2 separate regions of the Homo sapiens genome follow, and region 1 is linked to region 2. The links are contacts of gene promoters, found by promoter capture Hi-C in human tissues and cell types (Jung and others, 2019). All regions are on one chromosome and are shown on one strand. Each heading gives the region's core, a stretch centred on a gene start or on the middle of the fragment in contact. The rest is flanking DNA. Distances are from core to core; before and after follow the strand shown.

What was found. Contacts are between HindIII fragments. The study calls those that stand out against the background at their distance.
Region 1: a contact is called between a fragment that was not itself captured here and the fragment with the promoter of ZNF592 in region 2, in 1 of the 25 tissues and cell types used here (spleen).

The regions. Positions count from the first base shown.
Region 1 is chr15:85,015,170-85,021,272 of GRCh38, forward strand. The region is part of intron 1 of PDE8A (phosphodiesterase 8A); the gene reads left to right. Among named protein-coding and RNA genes, the nearest start is that of PDE8A, 36 kb to the left of the region's middle. The HindIII fragment of the contact is 5,250 bases long and covers 1-3,990 here.
Region 2 is chr15:84,745,085-84,750,797 of GRCh38, forward strand. It overlaps ZNF592 (zinc finger protein 592), which reads left to right and starts at 3,508. Exons shown (of 11, transcript NM_014630.3): 1 at 3,508-3,580. RefSeq lists enhancers at 2,660-2,959, 3,032-3,871, 4,400-4,479 and silencers at 3,030-3,449, 3,510-3,999. The HindIII fragment of the contact is 21,328 bases long and covers 1-5,713 here.

The DNA of each region.
Region 1 (6,103 bases), core at 116-2,615, 270 kb after region 2:
AACCAGCTCATGTTGGTGAACATTTGAACATTTGAGTTGTTTCCCTACATTATTATATGACCTTGTGCATAAGTCTTTTTTTTTTTGGACAGGGTTGCCCAGGCTAGAGAGCAGTGGTGCAATCACAGCTCACCGGAGCCTCGACCTCCCGGGCTCAGGTGATCCTCCTGCCTCAGCCTCCTGAGTAGCTGGGACCACATCACGCCTGGCTAATTTTTGTAAAGATGGAGTCTCACTATGGTGCCCAGGCAGGTCTCAAAACTACTGGGCTCAAGCAACCCACCTGCCTCAGCCTCCCAAAGTGCTGAGAGTCATCTTTTTTGTTTTTTAATGTGAATTTTGCTAGGTGTTGTTCAATTTCCCTCTATAAGGGTTGTACCATTCTGAATTTTTACCAGCAGTGTATCAGAAAGTATTATTTCTCTACTGCCTTGCCATAGAATATTTTGTGATATCTCACTATGGTTTTTAGTTATCATTTTACTTCTCATATCGTGATTGAGATTGAGCATCTTTTCACATGTTTAAACTCTGCATTCCTTTTTTTGTTAACTATCTGTCCATATCACTCTAGACTCTCTCCAAAGGGTCGTTTGTATTTTCCTTCCATTTTTGGCATCTCTTTCTATATTGCAAATATTCTTTCCATTTCTTTATTTCTCCTTTTGTTTTAAGATGACTTGTCGGCTGGGCGTGGCGGCTCACACTTGTAATCCCAGCACTTTGGGAGGGTGAGGTGGGCAATCACTCGAGGCCAGGAATTGGAGACCAGCCTGGCCAACATGGCAAAACCTCGTCTCTATTAAAAATACAAAAATGTGCTGAGTGTGTTGGTGCACATCCGTAATCCCAGCTACTTGGGAGGCTGAGGCATAACAATCACTTGAACCCGGGAAGTGGAGGTTGCAGTGAGCTGAGGTCGCGCCACTCACTGTACTTCAGCCTGGGTGACCAAGCAAGACTTGGTCTCAAAATAAATAAATAAATAAAATTTAAAAAATGACTTGTCATTGCAAATTTAAATTTTTATGTAATTAATTCTAACAATATTTCCCCTAATATCTTCTGGAGTTTGAGTCATAATGGGAAAGCTTTCCATACTCCATGTTATAAAATATTTACCCATGTACTCAATGGTTTTATTTTTCACATTTAAATCTTCAATCCATTTGGAATTTATCTTGGTGTATGATATGAGGAATAAATTCAGTTTAATCTTTTTTTCCATATGGCTATGGAATTATTCCCAGCACCACTTATTTTGTTCATTCCCCCACACTAATTTGAGATAAATTCCATTCATAATTGAGTTCATTTCTGGATTCTCTGTACTGTTCCATTAGTCTCTCTTTAATTATGTGCCACTACCACACTGTTTTAATTATAGAGCTGTATAAGAATTATCTTGCAAGGCTATTCCTCTCTCTTTTCTTTCCCTTTTCAGGGTCTTCTGGCTGTTCTTGCTTGTTTGTTTTTACAGATGAACTTTATAATTAGCTTGTCTAGCTGTGGGAAGAAAACTCAAAGGTTTTTTCTTTTTATTGAGGTTGTATTATATTTACAAATTAGTATAGGGAGAACTGACATCATTGTGATGTTGTATCTTCTTATACAAGAACATGGTATGTCTTTTTACTTGTTTAAATCTCTTGTGGTTTTTTGGGAGTGTTTTTATGACTCTCCTCATAGAGTTCCTTATTGAGTTTATGCCAGATGTTCTATTATTTTTTGCTTTCATAAGTAGGATTTTCTCTTCCATTATGTTTCTAACTGAATTTCCCTTTTTTTTTTTTTTAATAAATGAAGCCTGGGCCGGGCGCGGTGGCTCACGCCTGTAATCCCAGCACTTTGGGAGGCCGAGGCGGGTGGATCATGAGGTCAGGAGATCGAGACCATCCTGGCTAACAAGGTGAAACCCCGTCTCTACTAAAAATACAAAAAATTAGCCGGGCGCGGTGGCGGGCGCCTGTAGTCCCAGCTACTCGGGAGGCTGAGGCAGGAGAATGGCGTGAACCCGGGAAGCAGAGCTTGCAGTGAGCCGAGATTGCGCCACTGCAGTCCGCAGTCCGGCCTGGGCGACAGAGCGAGACTCCAAAAAAAAAAAAAATAAATAAATGAAGCCTGTTGATTTTGATATGTTTCTTATATAGCCTGCTAAGTTCTCTGATTTGTAATACATAGCACATAAATTCTTTGGGGTTTTCCAGACATATCATTATATTATTTGTAAATAGAGTTTTACCTCTTTTCCAATTTTTAGACCACTAATTGCAGTCTCTTATTGCATTGGATAGTATCTTTAATACAGTGTTAAAATAATAAAGAAGATAATGTTTTATACAAAATAGTGTGTCTTGTTTCTAACTTTGTCAGGAAAGTTCTAGTTTTTCCCCATTAATATTTAGCAGACTTTTACACTTTTATTAAAGGAATAAGACCGGACACGGTGGCTCACGCCTGTAATCCCAACACTTTGGGAGGCTGAGGCGGGTGGATTACTTGAGGTCAGGAGTTCAAGACCAGCCTGGCCAACATGGTGAAACCCTGTCTCTACTAAAAATATAAATATTAGCCGGGTGTGGTGGTGGGCACCTGTAATCCCAGCTACTAGGGAGGCTGAGGCAGGGGAATTATTTGAACCTGGGAGACAGAGGTTGCAGTGAGCCGAGATCGCGCCATTGCACTCCAGCCTGAGCAACAGGAGCGAAACTCCGTCTCAAAAAAAAAAAAGCAATAGTGGGAGGAAATTATGTGGAGAAAGTTTTTGTGTTTTTTGCTTCTTTTCAAAGTATGGATGAGATATGCCCAGGATGGTGGTGGTAGATATTGTGATTATTTCTACTCTCAATTCTGTAGTTATAATATCCAGAATAAGTATGGTTTGATGAGCGTTTCAAAACAACCACTTTGGCTATCAAGTGAAAAGTAGATTGTAGAGCAACAGAAGTGGCAGTAGGCTAACTACAGGACTTTTGCAGCTCTTCAGAGAAGTAGTTTGGATTTCATGGTAGCAGTAGATGTAGAGGGATATAGGCAAACTTGGGATATATTTTGGAAGTAGAGTCTGTAGTGGTACTAATTAAAATAGTCATGTAGATAAACTGTTTCTTACTGTTTCAGGACAAGATGAGTCTATGCCAGATGTAAGTCACCACACTCATTTACTGATTTCTTCCTTGAGGATTTTTTGTTGTTAAAAAATTTTTGTGGTTGATCTGCATTCTGTCTTAAACTCTTTATTTCATTGTGGATTATTAACAGTTGGTCCACGGGCCACACTTTAAGCAACGTCAATCTCTAGTATCCATCTTAGGGGCAAACCATGATCTATTTAACCAGTCTCTTACTATTGGGTAGATGGTTAACCCTCACATCATCTTTTTTTTAGTATTAGGAATAAGTAACATTGCCATGAAATGCTTGTTTCTATAATTATGTGTATATATCTTATGCTTTCTTTAGGATAATTCCTGGAAATAGAGTAAGGATTTTGGAACATAATGACAAATTGTTCTCCATTTTACACACTTGCAGAGCCACATTTTTACCAGTATGAATTCTTTTTTCAAAAAAATCTTTGCTAATTTGGATGACAAATAGCAAGTTGTTATATGAATATGTACTTATTTGATTACTAGTAAGAATATTTTAAATGTATTTTTTGGAATTGATACATCCACCTTTGCCATTTTTAATGCTCTTGGATCATTTTTACTTTGGGGTGTAAGTACCATTTACATTAAGGTTATTTACTCTTTGTATAATGAAAATATTTTTCCTCTGTTTTAAAAATGGATTTTGGTATTTTTGCATCATGTAGAAATTGTCCTTTTTTATAGACTCTCCTAGCAGTATAGTTACTTGGGAGGTGTAGTTGGTCAAGCCTTGCTGCCTCCCTGCTTCCATCTCTAAAGAGGTTGCCCTTTGGTGGTAAGGGCAGTTCACTATTGTGAACTTGCTGGGGTAAAAGGTTTTGGTGTGAGGAACTTAGGAGTTAAAAACTCTTCTGTAAGGGAAATGTATATGAGTGATGGATGATATTAAGAGGTTATTTTTAAATTTTGTTAGGTGTGAAAATGGAATTGTGGTTGAGTAGAAAAATCTGCATACACACATAGATGTATTTAGGGGTGAAAAATGTGAGGGATTTTCTTGAAAATACTACAGTCAAAAAGATAGACATAGCAAATGTATCAACATTTAAAAAATTTTTGATTTGAGTGATGGGTTTATGAGTGTTCTTAACACTTTTAAAATTTTATTTTAAAGAAATGGGGTCTCGCTGTGTTGCCCAGGCTGGACTAGAACTCCTGGGCTCAAACGATCCACGTATGTCAGCCCCTACCGAATAGCTGGCATTACAGGAGCACTGTGCTTGGCTTCTTAATACTATTCATTATTTTTGTGGGGTTTTTTTTGTTTTGTTTTGGAGTCAGAGTTTCGCTCTTGTCACCCAGGCTGGTGTGCAATGGCATGATCTTGGCTCTGCAACCTCTACCTCCCAGGTTCAAGTGATCCTCCTGCCTCAGCCTCCCAAGTAGCTGGGACTACAGGCACCCACCACCACACCTGGCTAATTTTTGTATTTTTAGTAGAGACGAGGTTTCACTATGTTGGCCAGGCTGGTCTCAAACTCCTGACCTCAAGTGATCTGCCCACCTTGGCCTCACAAAGTGCTGGAATTACAGGCATATGAGCCACTATGCGTGGCCAGTGTGTATGTTTCGAAAAGGCTCTTGGGTCTCTGGAGAACTTTGGGGGAGTTTTTTTTTGGTTTTTTTTTTTTTTTTTTTTTTTTTTTGGCTTCCTGTGACTAGGATTCTCTTCTTAGTCTCTCTTCTGGCACTTTGCAGGCCGGGTGGTTGGTGATCTACATTACAAATGGAGCCACCAGTAAAGTCAGAAATGAGTCAAAGAAGGAGGTTTATGGTTGCCCCTTTATTTAAATGATCATGGTCATTGGCAAATAATAGGTATTCTTTCTTAGGCACAAGATTACTAATCTTCTCAATTCTCTGTCTGTGTTTATTTTTTATGTGATCTGTCTGCCAAAGAAGGAGAGTAGTGTTTTGAAGTCCTTCAGTCACAGTTGTGGTTTTGGCGAGTTTTTCCTCATACTTCTCACAGCTCTGGGCATTAAGAAAACAACAAGGGCCCGGCGCAGTGGCTCATGCCTGTAATCCCAGCACTTTGGGAAGCCAAGGCGGGTGGATTACCTGAGGTCAGGAGTTTGAGACCAGCCTGGCCAACACGGCGAAACCCTGTCTCTACTAAAAATACAAAAGTTAGCCGGGCATGGTGGCGCGTGCCTGTAATCCCAGCTACTTGGCAGGCTGAGGCACGGGAAGTGCTTGAACACGGGAGGTGGAGGTTGCAGTGAGCCAAAATTGTACCACTGCACTCTAGCCTGAGCGAGACTGTGTCTCAAAACAAACAAACAAAACAACAACAAAAAGTTTTTTTAATTTTGAAATAATTTTAGACTTAGAGAAAATTTACCAAAAAAAGTACAAAGAATTCCTGCGTAGTCTCTACCCAGATTGCCCAAATGTTACTAATATTTTACCATGGGCTTCTATTTATTGCCTGTATGTATCCATATTATTATTATTTTCTTAATCATTTAAAGTAAGTTGCATACCCGATGCCCCTTTACATCCCTTCAGTGTGTTAATTCCTAAAAATAAGGACATTCTCTATTATCAATACTGTTACCAAGATCATCAAATTAACATTGTTACAGTATTGTTAGTACCACAGACCTTATTCATGTTGTCCCACTAATTTCCTTTGTAGCTGCTATGGTCTCAATGTTCGTATTCTCCCAAAATTCTTGTTGAAACCTAATCACTAATGCAATGGTATTAAGAGGTGGGGCCTTTGGGAGATGATTAGGTCATGGGGGCAGAGACCTTGTAAATGGGATTAGTTCCCTTAAAAAAGAAGATTGAGGGAGCTTGTTCTCCTGTCCGCCTTGTAAGAACACATAGCAGGTGCCATCTATGAAGAGTAGGCCCTCACCAGACACTGATCTTGGACCTCCCACCCTCCAGAACTGTGAGAAATAAATTTCTGTTTATAAATTGTCCAAGCCTGGTGTGGT
Region 2 (5,713 bases), core at 2,258-4,757:
GCCTCAGTGGTTCTTCCTGACATGCAAAAGACACAGGGTTCAGCTTGGCATTCAGGACCATTTTTGATATAGTCATTATTTTTCCTTTTATTTTAGTCCATGAAACCCCATTTCCTACCTTACCTTTCCACATTGATTCCCCTACTTTTCTTCTACACCAGTCCTGTGCTCCAGCCAAATGGATTTCTTGGTGCTCCCCTCTGAACACTCCATCTATTTCCCACTGTGGGTTCTTGGTTGTACTGTTCCTTCTGCCTGGGACAGTCTCCTTACTCAGCCCATCTCTATTTGCTAAAGTCCCATCTACACTTCAAAGATTCATTTCCAAATTCCTTTCCAGAGTCCTAATATATTTTTCTTTTTCTTTTGAGACAGATTCTCACTCTGTTGCCCAGACTGGAGTGCAGTGGTGCAATCTCAGCTCACTGCAACCTCCACCTCCTGGGTTCAAGTGATTCTCATGCTTCAGCCACCCAAGTAGCTGGGACTACAGGCGTGCCACCACGCCTGTACTTTTAGTAGAGATGGGGTTTCACCATGTTGGCCAGGCTGGTCCCATACTCCTGACCTCAGGTGATCCACCAGCCTCGGCCTCCCAAGTAGCTGGAATTACAGGCATGAGCCATCATGCCCAGCCCTAATATTTTTTTCTTTCGAACCCCATAAATATCTTTTAAAAAACACCTTTCTTAAAAATACTTTTAAAAGCTACTTAAAGATACCATTTCCCTGCTTCCAGGAGAAATATACATGCACTATAAAAATAAGAAAATATAGATGTCACAGAAGAAAAGTCTCATTTTAAAATCTACGCATTATACTTATTTATGTATATTTATATATTACCATCTGCTATATCACCTTATAATGTGCTTTTAATTATAAAGATTTCCCACATCATTAAATCTTTTTATTTACCATGATTTTTAATGGCCACAAACTCTAGTTTATTTAACAATCATATAACTATAATATAATAATATAATATTGGGCATTTTTCCTGCTTATAGGTAGGGTGCAATATTTTGAGGTAATATAAATGGACTAATATCTGGGATATGGTGACAAATCTTCCAAAGAGCACAATATTTTTTGCAAACAAGAAATTAGGGCCTGAGATAATTAGGAGAAATGTAAGTTCCCAATGAAACTCTGGAGATATTGGCAGGTATGCTGGGTTTCTTAAGTGGTACACAGGTTTGGAGTCAATTGTACTTAAATTTTAAAGGACAGTGACCCCAGCTGCCCTAAGGATGATTGTAGAGGGTAATCCAGGCAGCTGATCCATGGAAGCATGCATGCCTCCCTACCTCAAAATATTTCAATCTTTATGCACTCTTTAAATCTTGTAGGAAGAGGCGGACTTCTCTGACTTTTTGCTCACCCCTTTCCCCCTTCCCATCTACTTTTCCTTTTCTGGTTTCTTGCACCATCAATTATCCTACATCTATCTGCCATTCTCCCCTCTCAGCTCCTTTAGTTAAGGTCTCCCCACTCAAGTTAGGAAAAAAAAAAAAAAAATCACCGGCCAGGCATGGTGGCTCATGCCTGTAATTCCAACACTTTGGGAGGCTAAGGCAGGTGGATCACCTTAGGTCAGGAGTTCGAGACCAGCCTGGCCAACATGGCGAACCCCCATCTCTACTAAAAATACAAAAATTAGGGCCGGGTGCGGTGGCTCATGCATGTAATCCCAGCACTTTCGGAGGCCGAGGCGGGTGGATGACCTGAGTTCAGGAGTTTGAGACCAGCCTGACCAACATGTTGAAACCCCATTTCCACTAAAAATACAAAATTAGTCAGGCATGGTGGCGCATGCCTGTAATCCCAGCTACTCGGGAGGCTGAGGCAGGAGAATCGGTTGAACCCAGGAGGCAGAGGTTGCAGTGAGCCGAGATTGTGCCATTGCACTGCAGCCTGGGCAACAAGAGCGAAACTCTCTCTCAAAAAAAAAAAAAAAAAAAAAAAAAAAAAAAGCCAGGCATGGTGGCGTGCGCCTGTAATTCCAGCTACTTTGAAGGCTGAGGCTGGATTATCACTGGAACTCTGGAGGTAGAGGTTGCAGTGAGCCGAGACCACGCAATTGCACTACAGCCTGGGCTGCGAGACCGAAACTCCGTCTCCAAAGACAAAAAAAAAAAACAAAAAACAATCAACTTTTCCCTTTACTCTTTTGCAGAGAGGGAGGGTCTCGCTATGTTGCCCAGGCTGAACTCAAACTTCTCGGCTTAAGGGATGCTTTTGCCTCAGCTTCCACAGTAGGACCCAACTTTCTCCTTTACTCTTGGTACTTCTTGAGCTCCAGGCCTACTTTTCTCTCTCTCACTGCCAAACATTTGAAATCATCACCCTTTATTAACTCCATTGCTTCATTGGCTAACATACTCTTTAGACAAGCTCTTCAACTCAGTTCTGTGCCTGGTGCACAGCAGGCTCCGGCTGCATGTTAGTTCCAGCCATCTTGCACATTTGCATCTCCTTCCTGGAGAAGGAATTTCTCCATGGTTAGCAGTGTGTGCTCACTCCTAGTCACCAGGGCCTCATCTCCGTGTTCCCACACCCTGACCTTGCTGCCGCCCTAATGCTGCGGACCCAGTTTCCAGGTACGCCGGGTTCTTGGAAGGTCCTGCCGGTCACCCTCCCAGCCTTCTGCCAGACTCACTGAGTTCTCACCCTGCACAGTCATCGTTTCCCCAGTAACCCTGAGAGATCTCCCAGTCTACCTCTTCGAGGCACCCGTTGCCAGTCCTCCATCTCTGTTTGCCGCGCGTCCCTCGGTTACCCCAGAGGCAACACGTCAGGCTGCCCCGCACCTCCAAGCCTGCGCGAATGTCCTTGTAGCCAGCTATGACCAAACATTTAGGGCGCACCTGAGCGCCAGGCCCACGCCACCCCTGCTTGCTTTCACTTAACAGCCTCGACTAGGCCCCCTATGCGCCAGGTCTCAGTGAAGAGGACGCAGTCCCGGGTCCTGGGCGCTCTTTGCCGGGCGAGACAGCTGCGTAGGCAGATCCTGTTCCTCTAGTGGGCGGCCTCGGCCCCTGCCCCTGCCCCGAGGCGCGTCAGAGGACAAGAGGCCCAGGTCGCTGGCAGCGGCTGCCTGCCCGACCGCACAGGGTGCCTAGCACGGGTGGCGGGGACTGGAGCCGGGCGGGGGCCGGCCGGGGTCGGGGGTCCAGCCCTGAGCGGCGCCGTCCCCGCCCCGCCCCGTCCCGTCGCGTCCCGCCCCGCCCTACCCGCCGCCGCCGTCGTCGCCGTCGCCGGGCCTGCGCCGCGCAGCCCGCCTCGGGCGGGAGGCGGGAGGCGGGAGGCCGGGCCCAGGCCGGGGCAGCCCCTCCACCGCACCGTCCTGGGCCGGTGCCCAGGTCCGAGTCGCCTTCCGCCTGCCCCCCCCCCCCCCCAATCCCCCGCCGCGGCAGCCCCAGCCAGGTCCCGCCGCCAGGCCGGCTCCCGCCCCCGCTCCGCCCCCGGAGCCGCAGCCCCGCCCGCCATCGCCGTCGCCATGTTGTGGCTCCCGCAGCCGGCGCTGGGGACGCGCGCGGCCGAGACTCTGGCCTGCAGTCGCCGCCGCCGCCGCCAGGTAAGCGCCCCCCGCGGGCCGGGCCGAGCGGGGCCTGCGGGCCGGGGCAGCCCCAGCCTGGGCCCGGGAGGATCGCAGCCGGGACCGAGTCCGAGCCCGAGCCGGGGCCCGGCCCTGCAGCCTGGCGGACCCTGGCCGCCGCCAGAGGCGGCAGCCACTTCCCCCGACCGCCGCCTGGCGGGCCCGGGCCGCCACCCCACCCCGCCCCCGGCCGTCGGGCGCCGGCCCCTTCCGCCGCTGCGACCGCCGCTGCGACCGCCGCTCCTTGGCAGGCCGGGCACGCTGCTGTCCTCCGCGCTGGGCGGGACGTGCGGCCGCCCTCGGCGATAGCCGGCGGCCCCCAGCCCGGGCACGGATAACGGTGCCACTTTCTCCCTCTGGGACGGCCTGTCAGCCCGACCGTCCCCGCCGCCCGAAGAGCTGTCGCCGTCACAGGGCAGACACTTCGGGGAACGACCCTCTTTGGCGCTCCTCAGTACTCCCCTCCCCTGAGCCCAAGTTCTGACCCTGAGGAAGGTTTCTCCCGGAGCAGACAGGTATTCCTAGAGCTCCAGAGTTGGGGTCCTCAGGGGTGACCAGGCCTGTTGATCAGGGTGAAAATTGTCTCTCTGCAAGGGCTCTTCCTGCCAACGAGGGGGTTGGCGGGAGGCTCAGTGTGACCTGAGGGAGGACAGGAGAGCGTCTGCTGGACAGATGGCCTCCTGGCCTTGGATCAGCGTTTGTGAGGGGGAGGGGTCCGTATGACCTTAGGTATGCCTGCTCCTGAGTACTGCAGGATTATTGAAGCTGTTTAGGGATTTTAAACCATTTTTTGAGTAGGCCAAAGGTGGCATTAAAGGTCCTGGATTGGAATAAGTCCACAGGCCCACCCAGGGAAGCATGTTTGGCATCCAGGACTAGTCTAGAATAGGACTGGCAGTAGAAGAATGGGACTTGGGGAGTAAGACGGTATTTGGCTTATGGTTTGCCCACTTGAGTTCAGGCCTGTGCTCATGGAGGGCCTGTAGGGTGCTTCTGTCGCGGGTGCAGTGTGGTGCACAGTGTGGCAGAGTGCGGAGGATGTGGACAGACAGATTCCTGGCCTGGTGGATGCTTGGTGGTATTTTAGTAGTCTGTTTCCTCAACCTCACTGTTACGTTACACAGTGAAAGGGGCAGAAGTGTGGTGCTAGTGCGTCCATTTTGATCATTTTCCAATTTTTCAACTAGTTGTGGCTTTGATTCATTAAATAAATTTTTACTGAGCACTTACTCTGTGCCAGGCACTGAGCTAGGTGTTGGGAGTACATTGGTAAGCCAGAAAGATACCATGTTTTAGTTCTTAGCCATTGGGAAAGTCTAATAATTAATAGTCGTGGCCGGGCGCGGTGGCTCGCGCCTGTAATCCCAGCACTTTGGGAGGCCGAGGCGGGTGGATCGCCTGAGATCAGGAGTTCGAGACCAGCCTGACCAACATGGTGAAACCCCGTCTCCACTAAAAAAATACAAAATTAGCCGGGTGTGGTGGTGCATGCCTGTAATCCCAGCTACTTGGGAGGCTGAGGCACGATAATTGCTTGAACCCGGGAGGCGGAGGTTGCAGTGACCTGAGATCGTGCCGTTGCACTCTAGCTTGGGCTACAGAGTGAGACTCCATCTCAAAATAAATAAATAGTCGTGGAAATTTATTCAACAACAAATATTTGTCAACAAATACGTGTTAGGCATTGTTCTAGATGCAGTGAACAAAGAAAGCAAAAATGATTGCCCTTGTGGTGCTTTCCTGGGAGTGGGGGAGAAGACAATAAATAAAATATATAACAAAAATATAGTCTGTTAAAAAGTGTGAAATGCTAAGGAGAAGAAGGAAGCAGGGAAGGAGAATCTGAGGTATCAGGGGTGGTAGTTGAATTTATATTATACGGTGGCCTGGGAAGGCTTCCTAAGAAGGTGTCTTTCGAGTAAAACTTGGAAGTGGTAAACTAATAATTCAAACTATAGTGAATATAAGAAGAGAAAGCTGAAGAGAGGGGTAAGAGACCGATTTGAGTTGGGGGCTCAGGGAAGCCTTCCCTGGGGAAGTGATGTTTAGGCCAAGATCTGAAGGAGGGTTAAGAGTTAACCATGTGTGGAGCTGACTGTAGCAAGGAGGAAG